3 separate regions of the Homo sapiens genome follow, and all the other regions are linked to region 2. The links are contacts of gene promoters, found by promoter capture Hi-C in human tissues and cell types (Jung and others, 2019). All regions are on one chromosome and are shown on one strand. The core of a region is centred on a gene start or on the middle of the fragment in contact, and the rest is flanking DNA. Distances in the headings are between cores, read along the strand shown.

Region 1 (3,989 bases), core at 362-2,861, 36 kb before region 2:
CTGGATTTGGTGGCACGCGCCTGTAATCCTAGCTACTCGGGAGGCTGAGAATCGCTTGAGCCCGAGAGGCGGAGGTTGCAGTGAGCTGAGATCGTACCATTGTACTCCAGCCTGGGTGACAGAGTGAGACTCTGTCTCAAAAATAATAATAATAATAGGAATGTATGTGTGTATATAACATATATACACATATATACATAACATATATAACATATAATATATACGTATATATGTATATATGTATATATAACATATATACACACATACATATATGTATACACACACATATACACGTGTGGCAGACTGTCACTCTATTGTCTTTCATGTCAATGGTTTTTGAAATGTAACTATAAAAAGCAAATAATGCTTTTCCCCCCTATTCGTATGCCATTATCCTTATTTTATAAATGAGGTAACAGCTTCAGAGAAATGAAGTAAGTCACTCAAGGTCACATAGCTGTGCAGGTTCAGAATCCAGGTAGCCTAATTCTTGTTTTTTAGAGTGTAAAAAAAGTTTGTTATATGAATCAACTAAACAAATGCCTAAACTACCAAAGAGAAATAGTGATGCTTATGTTCGTTAAGGTTTAGTTGTGACAATGATGTTTTTTCTTCTATTCCAAAATCTTTTTCCCCCCAGCTCTAAAGCCCAAATTTGCAGAATCTACGGAAATTTCAGAACTCTCCCATAATTTTGTTATGGTAAATCTTGAGGTAAGACTTTGAGAGTTTCTCCTTTCTGCTATGATTTTAAGACTTTTAAAGTTAGTATCATTCGTGCATATTCATTACAGCTTCATTAGTGGTATGAAGTCAAATTTATGTATGTGTTTTTCTCTTGACCGCTAATACTAAGGCTTGCATCAGATATGTTAGAAAGCCATCTAACATCTATTTCTGGGAGGAACTAGGAGAGGAGAGATTGAATAAGATGACTAAATTTTTTTTTTTTTTATATGGAGTCTGGCTCTGTTGCCCAGGCTGGAGTGCAGTGGTGCGATCCTGGCTCGCTGCAACCTCCTCCTCCCGGGTTAAATCAATTCTCCTGCCTCCGCCTCCCGAGTGGTTGGGACTACAGGCATGCACCACCACACCAGGCTAATTTTTATATTTTTAATAGAGATGGGGTTTTGCCATGTTGGCCAGGTTGGTCTCAAACTCCTGACCTCTGGTGATCTACCCACCTTAGCCTCCCAAAGTGCTAGGATTACAGATGTGAGCCACCGCGTTTGGCCAATTTTTGTATTTTTAGTAGATATGAGGGTCTCACAATGTTGGCCAGGCTAGTCTCAAACCCCTGACCTTAAGTGATCTGCCTGCCTCGGCCTCCCAAAATGCTGGGATTACAGGCGTGAGCCAGCATGCCCAGCCTTAAGATGACTAGATTTTAAGGTCCTTTTATCCTTAGTTTATGATTATGACATGTTTTATGTCTTTGTAAAGCTAGACTAAAGGTATAGTCATACATGCAGACCACAACTTTCTGCAAAATGTGATTCAACTGAGCACCTAATCTGTGTTGGGCTTATATGTGCAACCTGCTTGTTTCCTTATGAAAATAGCTTTTACATACCTCATATAGGCTGCAGGTCTTGGAATCCTGAGTCATAGAATGTCAGATCTTAGAGTTGGAAGGGATTTTTAGGCTATTGGTACTATCCTCATTTTACAGAAAGAACCATCTTAGGCCTGAAGCAGGTATGTGATTTGGTCAAGGTCATAGAGCCTAATAAGTGATAAGAATAGGTACTCTCACCTAGCCGTGCTCTCTTTCAGGCCATACTTTTCACATGTGAGGTACTCAGATGCTCTATGATGATACCGCTAGCCATACGTTTCTGTAAAAATAATGTTTACTTGGGCCAGACATGGTGGCTCATGCCTGTAATCTCAGCACTTTGGGAGGCTGAGGTGGGTAGATCATGAGGTCAGGAGTTCAAGACCAGCCTGGCCAATATGGTGAAACCCTGTCTCTACTAAAAATACAAAAAAATTAGCTGGGTGTGGTGGTGCGTGCCTGTAGTCCCAGCTACTAGGGAGCCTGAGGCAGGAGAATCGCTTGACCCAGGAGGCAGAGGTTGCAGTGAGCTGAGATCGCGCCACTGCACTCCAGCCTGGGTGAGAGAGTGAAACTCCATCTCAAAAAAGAGAAAAAAAAAAAAAAAGATAATGTTTACTTAAACATAGGTCTGGGACTCTTGTGAACACATTAACAGTTAACAGTGAGGCAGCTAAGGGATTGCTTATATAGCTAGGGGATAGCCTGAATGCTGATACACCTCACCATAGCGAAGTATTTAACCCCTGAAATGGGAACCACATCATAAATTGTGAAAGTATTGATTGCCTTTGCACATGAATTCCTCACCACTTTCTGTGGTGAATTAGGATTCCTACTCAAAGGAAACAGTAAAAACGTCTTCATAGAGGATTCTCCAACTTTGGAAATTTCTTAAAAAGAAAACTGATTAGGCCGGGCGTGGTGGCTTATGCCTGTGATCCCAGCACTTTGGGAGGCCAAGGCAGGTGGATCACAAGGTCAGGAGATTGAGACCATCCTGGCTAACATGGTGAAACCCCGTCTCTACTAAAAATATAAAAAAATTAGCTGGGCATGGTGGCGGGCACCTGTAGTCCCAGCTACTCAGGCAGCTGAGGCAGAAGATGGCATGAACCCAGGAGGCGGAGCTTGCAGTGGGCCGAGATCGCACAACTGCACTCCAGCCTGGGCGACAGAGCGAGACTCCGTCTCAAAAAAAAAAAAAAAGAAAACTGATTGTGTAGGTTTTTAATCTCCTGGGAGGACTATGAGTCCACAACTTTGACTAAAATGCCAGTCTTATTGATTCATGCACTAAAGAAATACTATGTGCAAGTCAATGATGTAGGTACTAGGAATATAGCAGTGAACAAAACAGACAAAATTTCCTCGTTGAAATAACATGCTAGTGTGGGAAGACAGAAAATAAGTATTTTAGAATATGTCAGATGGTGGTAAATGCTAGGGCTAAAAAAGAAAGGTGGAAGGGATGACTGTGGTTTTAAATAGATGGTTTGAAAATAAAGGGATATTTGAGCAAAGGTCTGAAACAGAAAAGGGAGTCAACCATGTGGATAATAATGGGGAAAGTGTGTTCAGCAGAGAGTTAAGAGCAAGTCCAAAAGCCTGTGTTAGGATTATCCCTGGCTTGTTTAATGACAGCAACAGCAAGAGGTCAGTGTAGCTGAAGAGGACTTAACAAGGGGTAGGACATTAAGTTAGAGAAGTGCCTAGGTGATAGATCATGTAGGGCCTTATAGGCCACTGCAAGGACTTGGGGTTTTGCCCTGACAAGTGGGGAAGCCACTGAATGGTTTTGAGGAGAGAGAGGACGTTATCTGACTTAAGGTTTACATTTAATCTTAATAGGATGAAGAGGAACCCAAAGATGAAGATTTCAGCCCTGACGGGGGTTATATTCCACGAATCCTTTTTCTGGGTAAGGCACATGATCTTAACCTGGGAATCCATGATGTGGATGGAGAGAGAAATGAATCAAGGCACTGACTTCACCTAGTGAAACTATACCAGGATGACCACAAACAAATAAAAACCAGTTTCAAGAGAGAGTGGGGGAGTTCTGAATGCTAGAACTACAAGTCTGAAGGAAAACTTTTCCCATTAACTAACTGCTTTTGTAAGCAATGACAAAAGTTTGGCCGGGCACAGTGGCTCATGCCTGTAGTCTCAGCACTTTGGGAGGCTGAGATGGGTGAATTGCTTGAGTCCAATTTGAGACCAGCATGGGCAACACGGTGAAAGCCCGTCTCTACAAAAAGTACAAAAATTAGCCGGGTGTGGTGGCACGCACCTGTAGTCTCAGCTATTTAGGAGGCTGAGGCGGGAGGATCAATTGAGCCTGGGAGGTCAAGGCTGCAGTGAGCCATAATCACGCCACTGCCCTTGAGCCTGAATGACAGAAGGAAACTGAATGACCCTGTCTCAAAAA
Region 2 (3,757 bases), core at 83-2,582:
CTCAGGAAGACTGGAAGTCCATATCAGGATTTGAGGGTGGGGTATTTATTGCCTCCTCTATCTGCCTCCTCTAGTGGAAGTGGGACTTCCTAGGGCCAGGCCAGGCAAGAACATTTTTCTACTCCTGTTGACAGCCTCCTGGTAATGGGAAACCATTGAGAGGTTTTTGTTTGTTTGTTTGTTTGGTTTTTGATGGAGTCTGGCTTTGTTGCCCAGGCTGGAGTGCACTGCTGGAGTGCAGTGATCTCGGCTCACTGCAACCTCTGCCTCCTGGGTGCAAGCAATTCTGCCTCAGCCTCCCAAGTAGCTGGGACTACAGGCATGCACCACCATGCCCGGCTAATTTTTGTATTTTTAGTAGAGACAGGGTTTCACCATGTTGGCCAGGTTGGTCTCGAACTCCTGACCTCAAGTGATCTGCCCACTTTGGCCTTCCAAAGTGCTGGGATTACAGGCGTCAGCCACTGTGCCTGGCCGAGAGTTTTCTTAAACAAGGTTGATGGTAACATGGTGACATTTTTTAAAGGGTTGCTCGGGCTTGTGTCAAAATGATTTTGGTATCTGACTCAGAATGAATGGGACCAGGAAGTCTCACAGCTACCGAAGTCACCAGGAGTATGGCAGAACAGGGGCTAGTTAGGATGACCATGGGCCAGGGGCTGCAATCTTTAATGCATAAGGAACAATTGGGTGTCAGTGATGAGGAGGGGTGGAGGGTGGTATGACTGGAGACCACAGGAGAAAGAATTTTTGTACAAGGGTGGAAATGGCCATGCTGACACCACGTCCTGGTTTTATAGGGTGAATTGGAGAGTGAAGGCAGGAATTAGGAAGCTGTTGCATTAGTCCAAGCAAGAAGTGATGATGCTGGAGTCAGAACAAGGGCAATGGAGACACAGAGGAAGGGCAGGGATATGTTAAGGCGGTGGGATGTGGGGTGTGAAGGAAACACAGATAGGGTAGAGGACAGCGTCCAGGTTTCTGGCTTGGTTTCCGCTTGTAGTCAGCCTCCCTCTCTGGGCTTTTGTGAAGACGGAGCCATAGAACGGACCGGACCAGAAAGCAGTTTGGAAATGGCAAAACTGCTACCCATCATCAGCTACATTATCATCAAAGCTCTCTAATTACCCTAGTAAGTTCAGTCAATGGAACGAGGCATGACAATTAAGATAAATCACGAGAGTCACCCAGACATGGGGGACCTGGAGGTCCTGAGTCACCTCGGATTACACCTGCTAGGAGTTGAGGGCCGGGGCGGGGCGAACACAGACTCCGCCCTTGGGCGGGGCCTGGATGCGGCCGGAGCGGAGCAGTGCTGGAGCGGGAGCCTCAGCCCTCAGGCGCCACTGTGAGGACCTGACCGGACCAGACCATCCCGCAGCGCCCCGCCCCGGCCCCCTCCGCGCCCTCCCGACGCCAGGTCCTGCCGTCCCGCCGACCGTCCGGGAGCGAACCCGTCGTCCCGCACTCGGAGTCCGCGGTAAGGGGCGCGGCCCCGGCAGCCCGCCCGCGGAGGATCAGGGACCGATCCCCGGCGCGGGGCGCTGGGCACCGAGAGCGGGCGCCGAGAAGGAGCGCGGGGCAGCGGAAGGAAGCCGGGGGAGGAGCGAGGGAGGGGGCTCCGCGGCGGCAGAGGTGGGGCTCACCTAGGGAGGGGGCGCCGAGGGGGTCTCCCAGACGTTGGGGGCAGCCGGGGGAGCTCCAAGGGCGGGAGGGGAGCAAGAAAGACGGCGCTGGGGCTGGGAGGAGAGATGGGGGGCAACTGGAGGGCAGTGAGGGATCGCTGGGGGAAACGGGGGCGTGGGGGGCGGGGGAGCTGCGAGGAGGGCGGAGTGGGGCTGTGCGGAAAGGTGGTACCGGGCAGCCGAGGGGCAGCGAAGGGGGCGGTGAAGGGAGCGGACTGAGGGGAGCTAGAGCGGGGGTGCGGGGGGAGGCATGGAGGTGAGGAGCTGAGGGGAGGGGACTGGCTGGGCGGGGGTCGTTTGGAGCTGGAGGGGACTGAGGTGCCGAGGGCAAGGGGCGCTGGGCAGCTGGGGAGTGTCTGGTTGGGAGAGGGTCGGGGGTGGGGATGTGGGTATGGATAGCTGGGAAGGAGAAAGGCAGCAGGGCAGTGTCTGGTCGAAAGAGGGTCATTTATGGGGGATGTGGGTATGGATAGCTGGGGTCGGAGGTTGAGCCCGGCTGGGGACCGGCGTGGGGGTAACTGTAGATGGAAGACGAGGGGTGGGGCTTGGGGGCGGGAAGCTTGGGAGAATGGAAGGGTGAGAGGCCAGGTTGGGTCTACCCTGCTGCAGAGGAAGGGGGCAGGGAGCCGGTGGAGACACAGGGAAGTGGCCTTGGAAATGGACACAGGGGCCTACATTCTGGTCAGGAGTGGAGAGGAGGCTCTGGAATAGAGTAGGGTCTGGCGGCTGCAAGTGGAGGAATCGTGGGAGAACTTGGAGTGTATAGATAGGGTGGTGGGGCGCTGGGTCAGCCTGGGGAGGAGGCCAGGTGTGGGTCGTGGTGTAAGGGTGGAAAGGTAATGGGGGCTGGAGTGGTGTCCACGCACTAGCGGTGTCTCGGCCACTCAGGAGTCCAAGGAGGGGACCCAGGCACTGGACCTTGTTACACGGGCACCGGGGATCACAGAAAATAAGAGAATCGTGGACAGAAAAAGTCATCCAACTCTGTTCTGTAGTCCAAGCATGGAAGCAACTTTGGGGAGGGCAGGGCAGCAGCCTTTGGAAGCTAAGAGAGATGTGGAGGAGGTGGGAGAAAGATGGGCCCTCAAAACACACACACACACACACACACACACACACACACACACACACACACACAAAACAAGATGGGCCCTCTTCCCCCGGCTTCCTGGAATCCAGATGGAAAGGGGTGGGAGACAGTAAAAGGAGAGGATGTGTGTGTGTGTGTGTGTGTGTGTGTGTGCGCGCGCACAGGTGGGTGTCCACCTGTTCTGTGCCTATAAACAGAGGAAGACAATGGAAGCCGTGAAAGGCCCTATCTATAGAAGTGGAAAGCCCTGGTGCCCTGTGGGAGCCAGAGAAGAAGCATTTTGGGGGAGGTGGGTGGGTTGGGGAAGCCTTCCTGGTCATGAAGGATTTAGCTAGCAGTGGAGGAAAGTGTGTTCCTATCAGAGGAAACCGTATGGGAAAAGGCAAAAATCTAAAAGCATCTCCAGTCCAAGAAATAGATCTTCAGTTTCTTAAAGATTATGACATGAAGGGAGGCATCAGTAACCTATACAAAATATTTAAATAGATTTCCCCTCTAAGCTTGAAGCTCCTAGGGTTTCTCTCCATCTCCCTAAAGTATAGCACAGGTCCTGGTGCATAGTAGGTGCTTGGTGAATGTTGATTGAATGAATAATTGGTGCTCCTGCCTCAATTTCTTCATCCATTCCCAAGAATTGTTGTGAGAATCAAATAGGATAATGTGGGTGAAAAGAACTTTGTAAACTGTAAAACAATGTACAAAGAGAGAGGCCACTGATGTTATTCTGCAGGTGTTCCTGTTTTGTCAGTGGACACACCCATGGCTATCTCTTTCCAATCTGGAGGAGGAAGGAAATGAATATCAAGCATCTGTTGGTGCAAGATGGAATGCTTTGAAAGCATCTTGTAGAATGCTAGACATTTAGTAGGTGCTCAATAAATGGTAGCTATTGTGATATTGTTTCTGTGGCTCTAGGAGACCTGGGAAAACAATGAGAAGGTGGTGATGGGTCAGCAGTGGGGAATGGTCTAAAGACAGATTG
Region 3 (4,119 bases), core at 378-2,877, 59 kb after region 2:
TTTGTTATATTGAATGTGTAAATAAATTTTAAATTTATAAACTCTTTTTTTTTACCAGTTCCTTCCACAAAGGACTTGAGATATCTTATAAAAATGGTCACAATACAACAATAAAAATAAATAAGTAAGTGAGAAAATTGGAGCAAAGGGAAAGCAAGGGTGAGGGAAAAATAAGAGGAAGCTAGGGTAAGTATTAAGTTCTTGGACACCTGCAAGAGTTGGGGCCAAAATGTTGTCTTTGAGCTTCCTAGCAACCTTTGCCAAGAGGGAAACATAATCAGCTACATGGTTTAGAGTGTCCTAGTATAAAAACAAACCCATTATTCCAGAGAAGCACTACTCTTCATCATCAACTGTAGAGCAGACTCTGTATGCTGAATGTGACCATGTCTTGAATATCAAACATCCTTCCAGCACTGAGTATTTATATGCTGTTCTTACAGTTTATCTCAATGCAAATTCATGCTTCTCACCAAAACACAATTCACAACAAAAGTAATAGTATGAAGGAACAAAACTATGTGGTTTGAGTATGTAGCTCATCGGTGTCCTGACTTTTTCCAAGCTTAACATATTTTGATCCTTGTGCTCCTTTGAGGCCTAGGTGCCCAGGCATGTCTCAGTGGCCCCAAAGCAGAACTCTACCTACCTTTGCTTAAAAGAAGAGCTTTTATTTTATGTATTGGGGTCCAGGGTAAGGTTGCCTTACAAAAAGAGTTCCATGCCTGTAGGTTTGAAAGTTTGAAATCTTCCTCTAGAATAGATGTACTGCTTAGCTTTTAGACAGTCTCCCTAAGTATATCTCACATCCTTAGTGTTGTAAGTATTGAGGAGTGGAGAGTTTAAAGTCTCTGACAGTTTCTGAAGAACAGATATTTGGGCTTATAGGTGGGTAATCTGTATAAAATACAAGTGTGAATTGTGTGTTTTATATATTTGTATTATGAGTATGTGGGTGTGTGTGTGTTGTATACTTTTTTCTCCCCAAGGTGTCCTGTAAACTGTAGCAAACTATAAGTGCTTAATAAACAGGGAGGTTGGGTCATCTTGGGCCTTGCTGTCTCTACACTATCACAGAGGTTCTCAGAGTCCAGAAAGTGCCTCCATGTGGTCCATTGACCAATAAGCAAGTGATGAAGCCCACACCTGGTGAACTTTAGACGGTCCCTTTAGGCTTTCAACCTGTAGTCTCCCTGGAGGCTCCCAGCACTCTCCCTGGACTGACTATATTTCATCTGCTTGGAATGCTCTCTTCTACTCCCCATCTTCTACCCTCATCCAGCTGGTGAGACCCCACTCAGCTTTCAAAACAGCTTACACTTCACATCTTCTATGAAACCTTTCCCAGCCCCCTGCCAGAGCTCTTTATTTGTTCTCTCAATGCACCCCATACGTAAAAGAGTCACAGTACCCATCACAGTTGGATGCACTCATTTACTTGTCTGTCTCCCGAAAGTTCCCTGCAGACAGGAAATGAATCTTGTTTGTCTTTGTGCCTACTGTGCCTAGCATATGGCCGGGCACGGAGGATGCAAAAATATGTTTTGGTTAATTTTATGATGTTAAGTATTTGGGTACTTCATTTTATTGTCCAGTGAAGACTTCCTGAGTGCCTACTCTGTTCTAGGCCCTGAGCTGTGAAATAGGCTACATTTCCTGGTCTGAATAAGCTCGATCCAGTGAGAAAGCCTACAGTAACAGTCATAGTCCAATTGGTCAGGGCTGTGACAGAGGGATGTTGGGGGAGCATAGAGGAGGAACGTCATTCTCCTGGGATCAGAGAACATGATGCCCAAGTGGAGTCTTGAAGATAAGTAGGACCAGTCCAGTGAAGAAGAAAGTTAAGGGCATTCCAGGCAGGGGCATAACCCTGGCAGAGGCAAGGAGCTGCCTTGTGGGTCAGGGAACCATAAATCACTGGATGGTGTGAGTCTGGAGTAGTGTTGCCCAAAGAGGGGACTCACGCCACTGGAATTGTGCAGGATGATTTTCTGTATTTATTTTCTAATACATATTTGGATATGTATTAGAAAAAAATATACCAGCATGCCAAGCCCTTCTCACTAAGATTTTTTTTTTTGAGATGGAGTTTCACTCTTGTCACCCAGGCTGGAGTGCAGTGGGGCGATCTCGGCTTACTGCAACCTCTGCCTCCCGGGTTCAAGTGATTCTCCTGCCTCAGCTTCCTGAGTAGCTGGGATTATAGGCACCCACCACCATGCCTGGCTAATTTTTTGTATTTTCAGTAGAGACGGGGTTTCATCATGTTGGCCAGGCTGGTCTCGAACTCCTGACCTCAGGTGATCTGCCCACCTCAGCCTCCCAAAGTGCTGGGATTATAGGCATGAGCCACCTTGTATGGCCATTCTAAGATTTTTTAAAGGTGAATTGGTTAAACATTTATTAGGTGCTTACCATGTGTCAGGCACTATTTATTCTAAGTGTTTCAAAGTATTATGCATCTAATTTAATCCCTCTAAAACCCTCCAAGATATGTTCTTTCCTTATCTCCACATTTTGTGTGTGTGTGTTTTTTTTAACAGATGAGAAAAGTGAGGCACAGAGAAGTTGAGTAACTTGCCAAAGTCACACAGCTAGTAAGAGGGTAGAACCAGTATTTCAACTCAGGTGGTAGTCTGGCTCCCAGAGCCTGTGCTCCTAACCACTTAACTTTACTACACAGCAAATGTGGTAATCATAGCTGATATATATTGAACAAGGCACTATGTGAAATGTTTAGCATTAATTATCTCATTTAAGTCTCTTTATAAACCTTCAAGCTAGGTACTATAGAGCATGTCCAATACTCTCAAAAATGAGGTTCAGAGAGGTTAAATAACTTGCTCAAGCTATACCATTAGCAAGTGGTGGACTCAGTATAAACCTATCAAATTTATTTAGGAACACAGATAGAACACCTGAGATTAAATCTTAGTGCCATGTTTTTAGGAAGGCACTTGAAGAAGACCTTAATGAATTGGTTAGATTTGGGCAGGTCAAAGTAACCCATCTCTGCCTAACTCGACTCCCTGAGCTTTCTGCTATTGATCACCAGAACTTGCCTATTTACATGTTTATCTCTCCTCCTAGGCTTCTACTGCATGGATTGTGTCTGATTTGTTTCATTATCCTAAGGACCCAGCATAGGGTAGATATTCATTAATACATTTTACTTATTCAGTGAAAAACATTTATTGAGCACGCTGAGCCAAGTTCTGCCCTGGCACTTAGGATATAATGAATGATGAACAAACAGCTGCAATCCTTACTGTCATGGAACTAATGGGGAAAGAGACATTAAATAAATACTTACACAAATATTAATTAAAAATTGTGCAAATAAATGGGTGAATTGTATGGTATGTGAATTATGGCTCAATACAGCTGTTAAAATTGTGATAAGTTCTACTTGAGTTAGGACTCTTGTTATTGCAAGTGATAAAATTGCAAATCAAACTAGCTTTAATAAAAAAAATAGAATTGGCTGGGCGCAGTGGCTCACACTTGTAATCCCAGCACTTTGGGAGGCTGAGGTGGGTGGATCACTTGAGGTCAGCCTGGTTTGATACCAACCTGGTCAACATGGTGAAACCCCATCTCTACTAAAAATACAAAAATTAGCCGAGCATGTAGTCCCAGCTACTCGGGAGGCTGAAGCAGGAGAATCCTTTGAATCCAAGAGGCAGAGGTTACAGTGAGCTGAGATTGCCCCACTGCACTCCAGCCTGGGTGACAGAGCAAGACTCCATCTCAAAAAGAAAAAAAAAGGGAGAGAATGTATTAGCTCCTGTAACTGGGAAGTCCACAAGACCCAGGGCTCAATTGCACTCTCCATTTCTCAGCTTTACTTATCCCCTCAGCCTCTTTCTATAGCCAGACTCTCTGCGTGGGGAGTTAGAGGGATGATGGCAGATTCATGGCTTCCCAATTCCTGCAAAAAGAGACCTTCTCTCTCCCAACCACTATGAATCAATCCCAGAGAATACTATGATTGGTCACCTGTGAGTCATGTGCCCATCCCAGTGGCTGGGGGAGGCAAGTATGGCAACATAGTCCCAATATAACTGTTTAAAATGGTGGTTTCCTAAAGGAGGGAATGAAGGGGGCAGATAGAAGTTA

Evidence for each region. Contacts are between HindIII fragments. The study calls those that stand out against the background at their distance.
Region 1: a fragment that was not itself captured here is called in contact with the fragment with the promoter of RAB3B in region 2 in 1 of the 25 tissues and cell types used here (ovary).
Region 3: a contact is called between a fragment that was not itself captured here and the fragment with the promoter of RAB3B in region 2, in 3 of the 25 tissues and cell types used here (small bowel, spleen and stomach).

The regions. Positions count from the first base shown.
Region 1 is chr1:52,024,000-52,027,988 of GRCh38, reverse strand. It overlaps TXNDC12 (thioredoxin domain containing 12), which reads left to right. Exons shown (of 7, transcript NM_015913.4): 4 at 641-714; 5 at 3,410-3,479. Among named protein-coding and RNA genes, the nearest start is that of KTI12, 7.8 kb to the left of the region's middle. The HindIII fragment of the contact is 9,000 bases long and covers 1-3,989 here.
Region 2 is chr1:51,988,275-51,992,031 of GRCh38, reverse strand. RAB3B (RAB3B, member RAS oncogene family) reads left to right here and starts at 1,332. Exons shown (of 5, transcript NM_002867.4): 1 at 1,332-1,480. RefSeq lists a silencer at 1,309-1,418. The HindIII fragment of the contact is 14,307 bases long and covers 1-2,760 here.
Region 3 is chr1:51,928,979-51,933,097 of GRCh38, reverse strand. All of the region lies in intron 4 of RAB3B (RAB3B, member RAS oncogene family), which reads left to right. Among named protein-coding and RNA genes, the nearest start is that of NRDC, 52 kb to the right of the region's middle. The HindIII fragment of the contact is 3,929 bases long and covers 1-3,591 here.